3 separate regions of the Homo sapiens genome follow, and regions 1 and 2 are each linked to region 3. The links are contacts of gene promoters, found by promoter capture Hi-C in blood cells and fetal thymus (Javierre and others, 2016). All regions are on one chromosome and are shown on one strand. The core of a region is centred on a gene start or on the middle of the fragment in contact, and the rest is flanking DNA. Distances in the headings are between cores, read along the strand shown. Region 1 holds the start of LINC03047 (long intergenic non-protein coding RNA 3047). Region 2 holds the start of ODF1 (outer dense fiber of sperm tails 1). Region 3 has its middle 62 kb from the start of LINC02844.

Region 1 (4,396 bases), core at 292-2,791, 1.2 Mb before region 3:
CTTTTTTATTAGATGTCCCTCAATTGCCCAGGTTTAGTGTGCCACCTGTTTTCTGTCGACCCTGACTGGTGCTGGCAAGATGTACGAAATCAGAATCTAAGTTCTATTTATAAGAAAGTTCATTAGCAGCATTACCTATAATAGCAAAAACTCAAAACAGAAACAAATAACCAAAATAAGAGACTGATTAAGCAAATTATGGTACCTGCATATAGAATATAAAAATATAGATGGGTGCAGTGGTGTGTGCCTGTAATCCTAACTACTTGGGAGGCTGAGGAAGGAGGATCACTTGAACCCAGGAGTTCAAGGCTAGTCTGAACAACATGGTAAGACCCCCGCCTCAAAAACAAACAGAAGAATATAAAAATATATTAACAATCATCTTCTTAAAGAATATTACTGAAAAGATAAAGCATACACAGTATATTCCTAAATTAAAAACACGCAAAATTGTGTATATAATAATGTCCCATTTTGTTAAAAAAATTTAAAGGGAAAAACATTAAATCATATAATGTTACATTTTAATAAAGAGTATATAAATATGTGCTTACATATCATATATAAAACAGTATATGTGTTATGTTTGTTTTATAGATGTTTTATAATATGCCATGTTACATTTACATAATATACAATGTATACTATATATATAGATTTATTGATTCATTATATTATGTCACTTTTTATAAAGAATTCTCTACGTCTCTACCGGTACATGTTTATGTCATGCATCTGTTATATAAACCACATAATATACATGTTACAAATCACATACATGTATATATATGCATGAATGTACAGCGCTCTCCCACGTGTCATCCGAGGTCACTCTGGGACTGAAATAAAACGGGTTGTATCCTCCAGTCCACGTTGGCGTAAAGTACAATGAACAGTGTCCTCCTCAAGTTTATCCAGATTCCCAGGAGCTCACTGCTGCCTCTGGACTGTGGGGTTCATTCTCAGACCAACCAGACTTCTTTTTTCCCTTCTCTGCTCCAGCTCAGAGGTGGGATTCAGCCATTTCTCTGGATTCCTCCAAAACCACCTTCGCAAGGAAAATGAGCATGTGGCAGATGTTTTCTTTCTTCTTTTTTTTTTCTTTTTAGAGATCGGATCTGGCTCTGTTGCCCAGGCTCGTCTTGAACTCCTGGGCTCAAGCAATCCTCCCACCTCGGCCTCCCAAAGTGCTGGGATTACAGGCATAGCCTGTACCACGCCCAGCCTAACATTCTCTCAATGTTCAGAGCAGCACAGCGTGGATGCCTCTTATGTAGAAAGCCCCCACTGCTTGCAGGGCTCTGGCTGCCGGGGTGGGGCGGGGCCTGGGGGCGACGGTATTTGCGCCCCTCCAGGCTGGCCCTCCCTCTAGGATTTCCTCGCTTCAGTGTGTCCCCCACCTTCCCATCTCGTGCTACACCTCCTGGCATTACAGACAAGACCCCTTGATGACTGTGACAGACATCCGGTCTGGGACAGAAGATAACAAAGAGAAAGCCTTACCAGTCCATCCTCCCACAGCCACCAGGAGGAGTGAGAACGATGCCAGCACAGCTCAGCACACAGCACAGCGCACAGCACAGAGCACGTAGAACACAGCGCACAACAAAGCACACAGCGCACGGAGCACAGCACAGAGCACACACGCGCAGCACACAGCGCACGGAGCACAGCACAGAGCACACAGCACAGCGCACACAGCACAGCGCACACAGCACAGAGCATGCAACACAGCACAGAGCGCACCGCGTGCACAGCACACAGCGAGCACGGACCACACAGCGCACGGAGCACACAGCGCACGGAGTGCACAGCACAGCGCAGGCTTCTGGAGCAGATTCTGGAGGAAGTCCTGGTTCCGCCACTTACCAGCTGTGCGGTTTGGGGCACAGTTCTTCCCCTGCCTTAGTTTATTTATCTACAGAATGGGGTGGGACTAATATTTAGTAGGGTTGCTGAGAATTAAATGAGTTAAATATAGAAGAATATCTTTGAACTTGGCAGGCAGTAGACAAAAGTTTCTTAGAGTTAATATGTATGAAGTGCTTAGTGTTTGGCACATAGTAAATAATATTCGATGTTATGTTTTTCTCCACAAATACGAATTATGTCCTCAGCCACCGTAACTGCCCAAGGGGTTCACCTTGCCTGCTGCCTAGACTGAGCCGATTCATCAAGACAGGGGAATTGCAATAGAGAAAGAGTAATTTACGCAGAGCCGGCTGTGCAGGAGACCGGAGTTTTTTTTATTACTCAAATCAGTCTCGCCAAGCATTCGGGGAGTCGAGTTTTTAAGGATAACTTGGTGAGTGGGGGGAAGCCAGTGAGCCAGGAGTGCTGATTGGTCAGGGATGAAATCATAGGAAGTCGAAACTGTTGTCTTGTGCTGAATCAGTTCCGGGGGGTCCAGGGGCACAAGATCCGATGAACCAGTTTATTGATCTGGGTGGTGCCAGCTGATCTATCAAGTGCAGGGTCTGCAAAATATCTCCAGCACTGATCTTAGGACCAGTTTAAGGAGGGTCAGAATCTTGTAGACTTCCAGCTGCATGACTCCTAAACCATAATTTTTAATCTTGTGGGTAATGTTAGTCCTACAAAGGCAATCTACTCCCCAGGCAAGAAGGCGGTCTGCTTTGGGAAAGGGCTGTTACCGTCTTTGTTTAAATTAGAAAAACTAAGTCTCTCCCAAAGTTAGTTCAGCCTATGCCCAGGAATGAACAAGGACAGCTTGGGGGTTAGAGGCAAGATGGAGTCAGTTAAGTTAGATCTCTTTCACTGTCTCAGTCATGATTTTACAAAGGCGGTTTCACCATCCCTCCCATAAACATGCAGGAGCAGCTAAAGGCAATTTGGTTTTGAATTACATGTTTATCCTTATATCTAAACTAGCAGAAGAATATATTTCAAAATGTAGGAGATGGGGCTGGGCGAGGTGGCTCTCACACCTGTAATCCCAGCACTTTGGGAGGCTGAGGGGGGTGGATCACTTGAGTCCAGGAGTTCAACACCAGCCTGGGCAACATGGTGAAACCCCGTCTCTACAAAAAATACAAAAAAAGTTAGCCGCGCATGGTGGTGTGCACCTGTAGTCCCAGCTACTCAGGAGGCTGAGATGGGAGGATCGTTTGAGCCTGGGAGGTCCAGTCTGCAGTGAGCTGTGATTGCACTGTTGCACTTCAGCCTGTGTGACAGAATGAGACCCTGTCTCAAAGAAAACAAAAGTAGGAGATGGGATTATGGTGCTTACTTTTTTCCTTTTCTTTACTTTGTGCCCTTTCAAATTTTCCAAAGTTTGTATATTGAGCATTTGTTATTTTTGCAACTATGGAAAATGCCAATTTTCTTTCCCCCCAAAAGACAAGAGAAGGCTCCTGGGATGATAATGGTGTAGGTTAGGAGAAACTTGTTCCCGTGAGTTGATTAAAGCTCAAACACCAGGCAAGGCTCCTTGGGAAATGGGTGGACCTTAAAAATTAATGATTCCCTGCTGTTTGTGTCTCAGAAGAAACCTGTGTTTATTTATTGCTCTTCAGACTTGCCATTTCAGCATATTGAAAAGAAACCAAACAGAGAGAAATTAAAAGTGCATGACTCGATTCCTTCCTACAAGCTAAATTGTTCTGAAAATTTCCTCTTGGATTCCCAGATTTTAAGACGCTTAGTCTGCTTCCTGCCCCTAATTGCTCTATTAATTTAATCTGCTCAAAGTCTCCCAAGAGTCTAGGTCATCCGCCTTTGGGGCTGGCTCTGTCTGGTATGGACTGGTCTTCTCCATAGACAGTTTTGCTGAGTTGTTTTACATGTTACCCAACCTTCTACTTTGCTAGTTTTCTCCTTCCAAGAGGGTTTCTCCTGACCTAATTAAATGAGTTCTGGTATTTGTGTGAATTTGCCCATTGAAATGATGTGAACCTATTTTCCTTTTTTCAGTAGGGACCTAGAGCTACACATTTGTCCTAATTTTCCTGTTTTGGGTTCCTGATCATTTATCTTATGAGCACTCTGTAGCTTTATGTGTATCTAGCATAAATTGACTCTTTGCATAAAAACAGACTCAGCAAATTTGTTTGTCTTTCTGAGCCTTCATTTCCTCATCTGTAAAGTGGGGACAAAAACATGTGTATTCAGGCCAGATGCAGTGGCTCACATCTGTAATCCCAACACCTGGGGAGGCCAAGGGGGGGGGGCCGATCACTTGAGTTCAGGAGTTCGAGACCAACCTGACCGACATGGCGAAACCCTATCTCTACTAAAAATACAAAAATTAGCCAGGTATGGTAGCGCACGCCTGTAGTCCCAGGCTGCAGCAGGAGAATCACTTGAACCCAGGAGGTGAGCTGAGATTGCACCAGTGCACTCGAGTCTGGGCGATAGAGTGAGACTCCATCTA
Region 2 (4,326 bases), core at 1,371-3,870, 1.2 Mb before region 3:
AAAAGGCACTGCACTAGAAGAAAAAATACTACACTGGGGGCCTTCTGGGACTGAGGCTAGAATCAGGGTTTAACATTTTCACCCATATTCAGGAAAATTGAATATTTAGGTTTGCAAGTGACACTAAGCCCTTCTGGAGAGTGAAATGTCAAGTTGTCAGAAATAGAGCATAGAAATTTCACAAGGTGGTGTGAATTGGAAGAGATAAAGCGGACAAGCCTGAGGTCATTTCTACAATGGACTTGGAGTTATCATTTCCGAGATCCAGAAATTAATGTAAAGACATCACCAGCTTCACATATTGCCTGCAGGCAGAGAAAAAATAGGCAAAGACCCAGACGCTGTCAGGAAGAGCATCACAAACCAGAGAAAACATTACCTCTTGCCTAAACTACACTGCCGAGAATTAAGCTTGAAGCTGTTTCTACTGCATGCCAAGAAACAAGGCTTCTGAAAGAGGCATCAAGAGAGTAGACAGCACAGGACAGAGAGGGATTTTAATTGGTAGAGTCTGGGGATAGGAGAGAAGCCAGGAAGACAGAGGCTGGAAAGACCTGGACAAGGGTATTCAAGTATCCAAAAGTAGGAGGAGAGTGGATACTGATCTGCTCACAAGGAAACCTTAACTTGGACCAAATATTTTAAAAAGAGTCCCTGCCTCACAGTGTGAGCAATTTATGTGACTTGATGCCCTAAGAAATAAAAACAAACATTGGTTCAAAGAGTATAGATGAATTTACAGGTGAAAGCTCCCAGGCTATGAGGGAGGTTCATTCCTGACCATTGGTGGCTGGTGACCTAGACAATAATTATCCTTTTTTTTTTTTTTTTTTTGAGACAGTCTCACTTTGTCACCCGGTCTGGAGTGTAGTGGTGCAATCTTGGCTCACTGCAACCTCTGCCTCCTGGGTTCAAGTGATTCTCCTGCCTCAGTCTCACGAGTAGCTGGGATTACAGGCACGTGCCACTACGCTTGGCTAATTTTTTTTTTTTTTTTTTTTTGTATTTAGTAGAGATGGGGTTTCACCATGTTAGCCAGGCTGGTCTCGAACTCTTGAGCTCAGGTGATCTGCCCGCCTCCGCCTCCCAAAGTGCTGGGATTACTGGCATGAGCCAATGCACCCGGCCTCCTATTGCTTTTTCCAAAGAAACATCACTGTCACTGTTGTCAAGAGACTCTATCTATCTATCATCTATCTATCTATCTATCTATCTATCTATCTATCTATCTGTCATCTGTCTATCAGTTTTTCTGCACTTTGCTTGTTTGACTTAATACATCAATATGTAAGATGCTTCATCAATCCTTTCTATATTTACTTATTATTCCAGTGCATGAATGTATTATTTATTTAACCAGGGACAGCACTTTCAACCATCTTTTTCATCAACAGTAACAGACTAAATGGCATATGTAAAAAGTTAGAAAAGGAAAGTTTTCTCCAGGCAAAAAGAAAATATAATCTAAAACAAAAATTTTTTTAAAAAACTGACTCTTTTTAATTACCCAATTCAATTAAAAAGCCTTTCAAGTCTATCCTGAAAGCTACAACTCAGTGCCATAGTTTATTTGCAAGACCTTTGCTAGAGTTAGAGGGGAGGCCAACATGATAGACCTAATTCCAGATACAAGGTAAGTCTTTGCCTGGAGTGGGGGGATAGGAGAATGATATTCCCACAAAACCAAGGCAATGCCTCTACTGTTCAATTTGCTCTCCTGCTTGTAAAGCCTCTGGCACACATTAAGGATTTGATCTATTATTATTACTTCTCCTGTAGTCATTTCTGTAAGTCCAAATATACTCAAATCACTTTACTCATAACCAGGAAAAATGTTTAGTTTGCTGCTTCCAATGGCTTTTTAATGACACCCCCTGTTTCTTCCCTTCATTAAAGCCGCATTATTTATCATACTGGCATTCTTGCTATAAACCACCGACGACCTTGCCAATCGACATCATTACATTGTCTTTTGAGAACCCTACAATTCCCATCATGGACTCATTTACTCTTCTTTCCTTAAATCTTTCCTAAGTCACCAGGGTCATTATCCTGAACCCTTTTAATCTTTGTTCAACTATTGATTGTCACATATTTTTCCTTATTCCAACTTATAAGGCTAATATACCGACTATAAAAATTTAAAAATAAGTTATTTTACTTGGCAAGCTCTCGCTTCTCATCTTCTATGGCTCTGATGGCTTTCCTCTCCAAACTTCTGAGAGATGGTCGCAGACAGTAAAGCTTATAATCACACAGGCAACATGGGTAGAGATCACACAGGCCGCAAGAGCGTGATCGCTTGGAATAGCACAAGCAGTACGGATATGGGTGCAAGTCACAGCAGCAATAGGGGTGCATATACAAGTCGCACAGGCACCGTGTGCTAAATTCGTCGATGCATCTCAGTTGCCTTAGTTCTCTGTCCACCTTCTTTATGTCCCTTCTGACACTGTCCAAGAGACAACTCAGTGCAGCCATTATGGTCACACCTGATTGTTCTGTGAGTACCTTTGGGAAATGGCACTCCGGGAAAAAATTTGTTCTAAGCCCTTCTCAGAAGTTGCTTTTAAAAATAAATGAGGCACACATGATTCACTTACTTTAAAGCTTGTGTTCTATGACCTCACCACCTTCTGAAGTATGTCATAGTCTTCTGGTTACCATGTGAACTGTACACAGTCATGGTCTCCAGAGACCATCCTCAGAGTTACAGAGCTACTCTCAGAACCATACTCGTGTTGAGATTTCACTCACCTTCAAGGAGGATGGGTCTCCCAAGCGAGCATAGCTCATCGGGGTGCATGGGGCTGGCCACTAACATCCTTGCCTTGTGTGTGCTCTGGGGACCAGCCATGGCTATGACTGTGTGTTTGTTGAACTTGGTGCAGGCGAAGGCAGGAGCTGCCCACGCCTTTCTCCATGACCTTCTAGCTCTAGCCTTGATTGGAAGCTTGGCCTTGCTCCTTTTGTTCTAGAATTCATTCTGTCTCCAGACAGGTAGAATATAAAGAATGTTCTCATCATTCTCCTCCTACCAAGTCATCCTCAAGTCAGCCATTGTCCTTGACCTTCTGAGTTACAAGTCTCTGAGTCCTGCCCATTCTGCGCCAGCTGTGGTCATGGCTGTTCGGGAACCTCATTTCTCTACTGGTTGGGGGTCCTGTCCTTAAGCTCCCATCTGTCAGTCCTCGGGGGCCTGTCCTGGGGAACTACCTCCCATCAACTACACCTTTGGTCTTGCATCCAAGCCTCCGGATGTCTTGTCCCTGAGTGCTTCCCAAATGTTGGTCTTTGATGTTCTTGTAGCCAACCGCCTGAAGATGCTGGAAGCCAACTGCCTGAAACCCCCGCTTCGGCCAGTTTCCTTTACTTTCTGTTCAGTTAACATCCTAGACCTCTGATTCGGCCTCAGATTTGGCTCTCGGTGCCTCTACTCCTCTGGTCCTTTCACCTCAAACTGCGGTCCAGCTCTCGAGTCTCCCTTGTATGAACTAGAGCTCAGGTATTGATGACAAGTGGTTGGATGTGACACTGGTGAGGGAGACAAGGGCCAGGTTTGAAGGGACCTGTAGCCAGACTAAGGACTCTGAACTTTATTTTGAGCCCAACGAAGGATTGTTGATTTTCTTTTCTTTTGTCAGAAGTGAGACAGCCACACTGAAGGTAAGTTGCTAGGGACAATAGTAGTGGGGTTTTCTGCTGCAAGACAAGAAGAGACAACAAAAATCTGGACTGGGGATCATGGCTATGGGGATGGCAAGGAGGAAGCCAATGGGAAAGCCTTCCCCCACCTCTGCCCAGGCCCCATCTAATCCATTTTCCACATTGTAGCCACAGCGACTTTCATATAGAAATCTGTCATTCCTCAACCTTCCCCACCCATCATCCCACTCACCTTAAAAGTCTTCTCTGTCCTCTCAAAAAAAGGACCAAAATCTTTACCAGGTGCTGAGCAATGGGGCCTCTCCCACTTCCCCACTCTCCTCTCCCATCCTAGTATTATTGCAATTCATTACCCCTCAGCCACGATGGCCTTCCTGGAAGACCACTCACTTTCCAGAGGCCGTTCCTTAGTCCCTTGAAGGACATTCCTCATTCCTTCCACCTCATTCAGAGCTCATACACAGGACGTTCTGCCTGCTTAGAAATTGAACTCCCCACCTATGACTTTCATCCATTTAATTCTTAAGGCACCCTTTAGATCTCCCCCTTTCTTGGGGAAGCCTTCTCTGTCTCCCAGACTAAACACTCTCTTAACTTAGGATACATTTCCTTCATGATATTGTTTCCCCAGCTGGACTGTAAGCCACGAGGGCAAGGACC
Region 3 (4,275 bases), core at 119-2,618:
AATATTATAATAGGTGTGTTGTCTGATAGTAGGCAGAAAGCACAGTGTGTGCCAAAGAGAGACCTGGTTGCATAATCCCGCTGTCCCACTTATTGGCTATGTAAATCTGGGCCTCAGTTTCTTTATTTGTAAAATGGAAATAAGAATACGTAACATAGAGTGCAGTCATGCAAAACAAATAACATAAATTTGGTACCTAGAACATGTGATTGAGGATATGCTGATTTAGTCTCCTTTTATTAAAGAAATGATCATATTGTTAACTAAATATGGACACACCCACCACCTTTCCTCTAAAACTACTACAAGAGAAATATGATTTGAAAGCATAAATCTCATACAAGACTCTAAAAGCAAAAGCAGAACTCAGATGGCAGAATAGTTTATTTTGTGTTTGTTTATTGACTTTATGGTTCATTACAATAACTTTCACTGAATAGCTTCAAAGGAAAAGAATTTAGTGCAATAAGGTTCTGCTATTACAAACATACATTTCATTTTTAAAGTGAATCAAAAACTTTTGTCTGAGGAAGTAGAGGACTAAAAGCTGAGTGAATAACCTCTATGAGCTGTCAAAGCAAGCAAGCCTCCAAGGGGGTTCTTGTGCGTGAGTTTTCAAAAGAAAAATACTGCATTCAGAGAGCAGAGGTAACTTTGCCTGGCTATCTTTATCTGATATTCTGACATGAAATGCCTCATTCTCAAAGTATTATAATTGTTTTATTTTAATTCCATGGCTCGATACAGTTCCTTTTAATGTTGTATTGGTGAATAAGGTGGATTCTAAAGTCAGGTTCAAACCTTGATCTTGAACAAACTACCTAAATTCCCTACACCTTGCTTGTAAGGTTACTGCTGAAGTTTGATGAAGCAATGCATGCAATGGCGTGTGGTTGGAACAATGCTGGGAATAAAGTAAGTGCTGTATTCATATCAGATAGCGTATATTTAAGAGCAAAGAATATTACCAGGGATTTTAAAAAGTCATTTCTGGCCAGGTCCAGTGGTTCACACCTGTATTTCCTAGCACTTTGGGAGGCAGAAAGGTCTCTTGAGGCCAGGAGTTCAAGACCAGCGTGGGCAACATAGAGAGACCCCTGTCTCTACAAAATACAAACAAAAATTTAAAAAAATAGCTGGGCATGGTGATGCAAACCTATAGTCCCAGCCACTCAGGAGGCTGAGACAGGAGGATCGCTTGAACCCAGGAGGTCAAGGCTGCAGTAAGCAATGATGGCATACCTGGATTCCAGCCTGCATGATAGAGTGAAACCCTGTCTCTAAAAAAAAAGAAAAAACAAGGTCATTTTTTAATGATAAAGTGGTGAATTCACCTAGAGGACATAACAATTCTAAATGTTTACACAGCTAATAACAACAGAGATTTTATTGATTGGTTTCTGGATGTATGCATATTTAAAATTTATCAACTCATATGCTTTAAATATGAGTAATTGTACATCAAGCATACCTCAGTAAAACTATTTTTAAAAAGTGACATAAGATAGATGCAGGGTGGTTGGCAATATGACTGTAGATATAGCCTGATTTGAGAGGCATCAGGACACTTTCACTTCCCTATCCCAAAAGACTACCATGTCGTTTTTATGAATGCCTGAAATTACCTCATCATAGTTTCATTCTTTGGGAATAAAATCATATTCCCTTTTCAAATGCAAAGAAGAGTAACTCTTAATGTGACATTGGTTGTTTTAGTACCTCAATCAAAGTGAACTTTTCAAATTATTTCCATTTTTCTAAGGGCCAACTTGGATAAGGATGAAGGGGAGGAGAGATCCTGATTATAGGTGTAGTACACACACCTGCTATTTCCACCCACCCGCTATCCATTCTACTTTCTTCTCATAATAAAACCCTAGTTTTCCTTTGAGGACACTGCATCTCCTCGACTCTCAGTCCATGTGACTTTGGTGGGGTTGACCCCACCCTTCCCCCCAGTCATAGACATTGAGCAAGAAATGGATCAAGCCAATTATCTTGATGAACAATCTTCACACCCAACGATCTTGGGCAGTATCCTTCACTGTTTCAGAGTTGATCTGTGTGGCCAACAGAATAATGCAGAAATGATAGCATGTACTCAAAGTCAATGGGATTCAATTCCAGGGATTTTCTTGGAGATATTGGGAAAAATAAGGCCCTTTATTTTAGACTTGAAATGTAGAAGCCTGGAGCTTTTGAGATCCATCTTCCTATATAGGGATAGTTTGTGAATGAAGGCAAACCAAGAGAGGGAAGAGAGCACATCAAACTAGATATTGTTACAGCATTTGGGCACTGTGGTAAGCAGTCTTCAATATGGCCCCAATCCTTGTCATCTGGTGTTTACAATCTTGGGTAGTATCCTCCTACACTGTTTCAGGGCAGGTCTGCGTGGCTAAAAGAACAATACAGAAATGATGGTATATGGCTTCCAAAGATAGACCATCAAAGACAATGTGGTGTCTGCCCTACTCTCTTGGATCACTTACTCTGGGGAAAGCCAGTCGCGTGTCAAGAGGAAACTAGAGTCCTCTGGAGGGGCCCAGTTAGGGAGGAACTGGGGCTGTTCACCAACAGCTAACACTAACCAACCATGTGACTGAGTCATCTTAGAAACAAATTTTTTGGCCCCAGTCAAGTCTTCGGATGATATAGCCATAGCCTATATCCTGACTGCAGCCTCATGAGAGAACCTACACAAGAACTGACCAGTTAAGCTGCTCCTAAGTTCCTCACCCACAGAAACCATGAAAAAAATGATTGTTGCTTTTTTCAGCCACTCAGTTTTGGGATACCTTGTCATGCAGCAATAGATAACGAATACAAGTATCACTGTCACTGCCATGCCTGGAATGTTCAAAGCCAGACCCTAGGCCAAGCATAGTATGATGAAAAAAATCACTGGTCTTCCTTCCCAAACTCTCCAAGCTCGTTCCTGCCTAAAGGTGTTTGTACTTGCTGTTTTCTCTGCCTGGAAAACATTTCCTCCAAAACTTTCCATGGCTGCCTGATCATTTAGGCCTCAGCCCTTGTGTCACATCCTCAGAGAGGCCTTCCCTCAATACTACATGGAAAAAAAGTGTCCCCTCTCCCAGTCACACTCTATCACATAGCCTTATTTGTCTCCCTAGAACTTGGCACATTATGCAATTATCTTGTTTATGGATTTGTTTACTTGTTATTATGTGCCCTCCTCCAGCAGACCATAAGTTTCACAAGAGTAGCAGCTGTGTCTGAATGGTTCACCACAGTATTCCCGATGCCTAGAACATGGTCAGTAACTGCTTTTTCAATGAAAAATATTTGAGTTCCACTCTTTGCTCATGGGTGACCTTGTCAAGTCATGCCCTCCCTGCCCAAGGTTGTTGTAAAGGTGAAATGGAATCACATATGTGAAATTACCTCATACACTTCCCGACACATGGGACATCTTCAAATGTCTTAGCCTACCTTCCCTAGAAAACAGGCTGAGACAAAGCTTAAGTGCAATGCTTTATTGCAAGAAAACCCTAGGGCTGGGAAAATGAGGGGAAAGGAAAGAAAGGCAGGGAAGAGTAAGAAGCCAATATAGAGTAGTGCTACTGAGAGGCCCACTGCTTCACAGATACAGCCAGCCACCTGGCCATGGGAGACATCTCCAGGTAAGCTGTAGAAGAACATTACCCTTCAGAACAGTCCCTCACTGAGAGGAATACAGAAGTATTTAGTCCATCCGTTTACACTGTAACATGCTTCGCCTTGGTCAAAGTGTGCCCCAAGAGGAGTTACCTCCCTTCTACTTTGGGGATTCAGAGTTACCTCCCTTCTACTTTGGGGATTCATCACGTAGTCACCAAGGAAGCCAGACTCCACCCCCTTTGGTGTGGCACTTCATCTGAGGCCAAAAGTGATGTATGGACCCAGAGACTCTGGGCTCTAGTCCCCAAGGGTCCCGAAGATAGATGAGGTTGAGAGAGTCTGAAGCAGTCCAGGTGTGTCTGATACATCAACAAATGCCAGTGAGTCCTGCATGTGGGCAAGAACTGAGACCAGGACCCAGTCCTGGGACTGAGGCACATAGGGGTCAGGGATGGAGGAGAGTTTGATCACAGGTTAAGAGGCTGCACATTAAAGCAAGGATGTCAAGAGTGTCCAAGAATCTGAGAGGAGGGCAGATCTGGTTCTTAGTCATCTGTCCTCAAGATCCTCATGGCCCTGCAGGTCCAGTCATTAGTCTTCCCTGCTGGTGTCTCTGTGGCATCTGAGTTTTCCATCTGCTCCCTGGTCATCTGT

Evidence for each region. The method cuts DNA at HindIII sites, captures the fragments that hold promoters and counts their contacts. A CHiCAGO score of 5 or more calls a contact.
Region 1: the fragment with the promoter of LINC03047 here is called in contact with a fragment that was not itself captured in region 3 in 1 of 17 cell types (naive CD8 T cells); the score reaches 5.2 in naive CD8 T cells.
Region 2: a contact is called between the fragment with the promoter of ODF1 here and a fragment that was not itself captured in region 3, in 1 of 17 cell types (naive CD4 T cells). The highest score is 5.0, in naive CD4 T cells.

What each region holds. Positions count from the first base shown.
Region 1 is chr8:102,525,966-102,530,361 of GRCh38, reverse strand. LINC03047 (long intergenic non-protein coding RNA 3047) reads right to left here and starts at 1,541. Exons shown (of 2, transcript XR_001745731.2): 1 at 1,507-1,541; 2 at 511-1,051. RefSeq lists enhancers at 1,195-1,244, 1,315-1,364, 1,545-1,764. The HindIII fragment of the contact is 12,429 bases long and covers 1-4,396 here.
Region 2 is chr8:102,549,883-102,554,208 of GRCh38, reverse strand. It overlaps ODF1 (outer dense fiber of sperm tails 1), which reads right to left and starts at 2,620. Exons shown (of 2, transcript NM_024410.4): 1 at 2,162-2,620. The coding sequence starts at 2,481. It overlaps LOC124901998 (a long non-coding RNA gene), which reads right to left. Exons shown (of 3, transcript XR_007061039.1): 3 at 3,613-3,702. LOC105375684 (a long non-coding RNA gene) reads left to right here and starts at 3,581. Exons shown (of 2, transcript XR_928478.3): 1 at 3,581-3,666. The HindIII fragment of the contact is 343 bases long and covers 2,613-2,955 here.
Region 3 is chr8:101,322,588-101,326,862 of GRCh38, reverse strand. No RefSeq gene overlaps it. Among named protein-coding and RNA genes, the nearest start is that of LINC02844, 62 kb to the right of the region's middle. The HindIII fragment of the contact is 4,230 bases long and covers 1-3,483 here.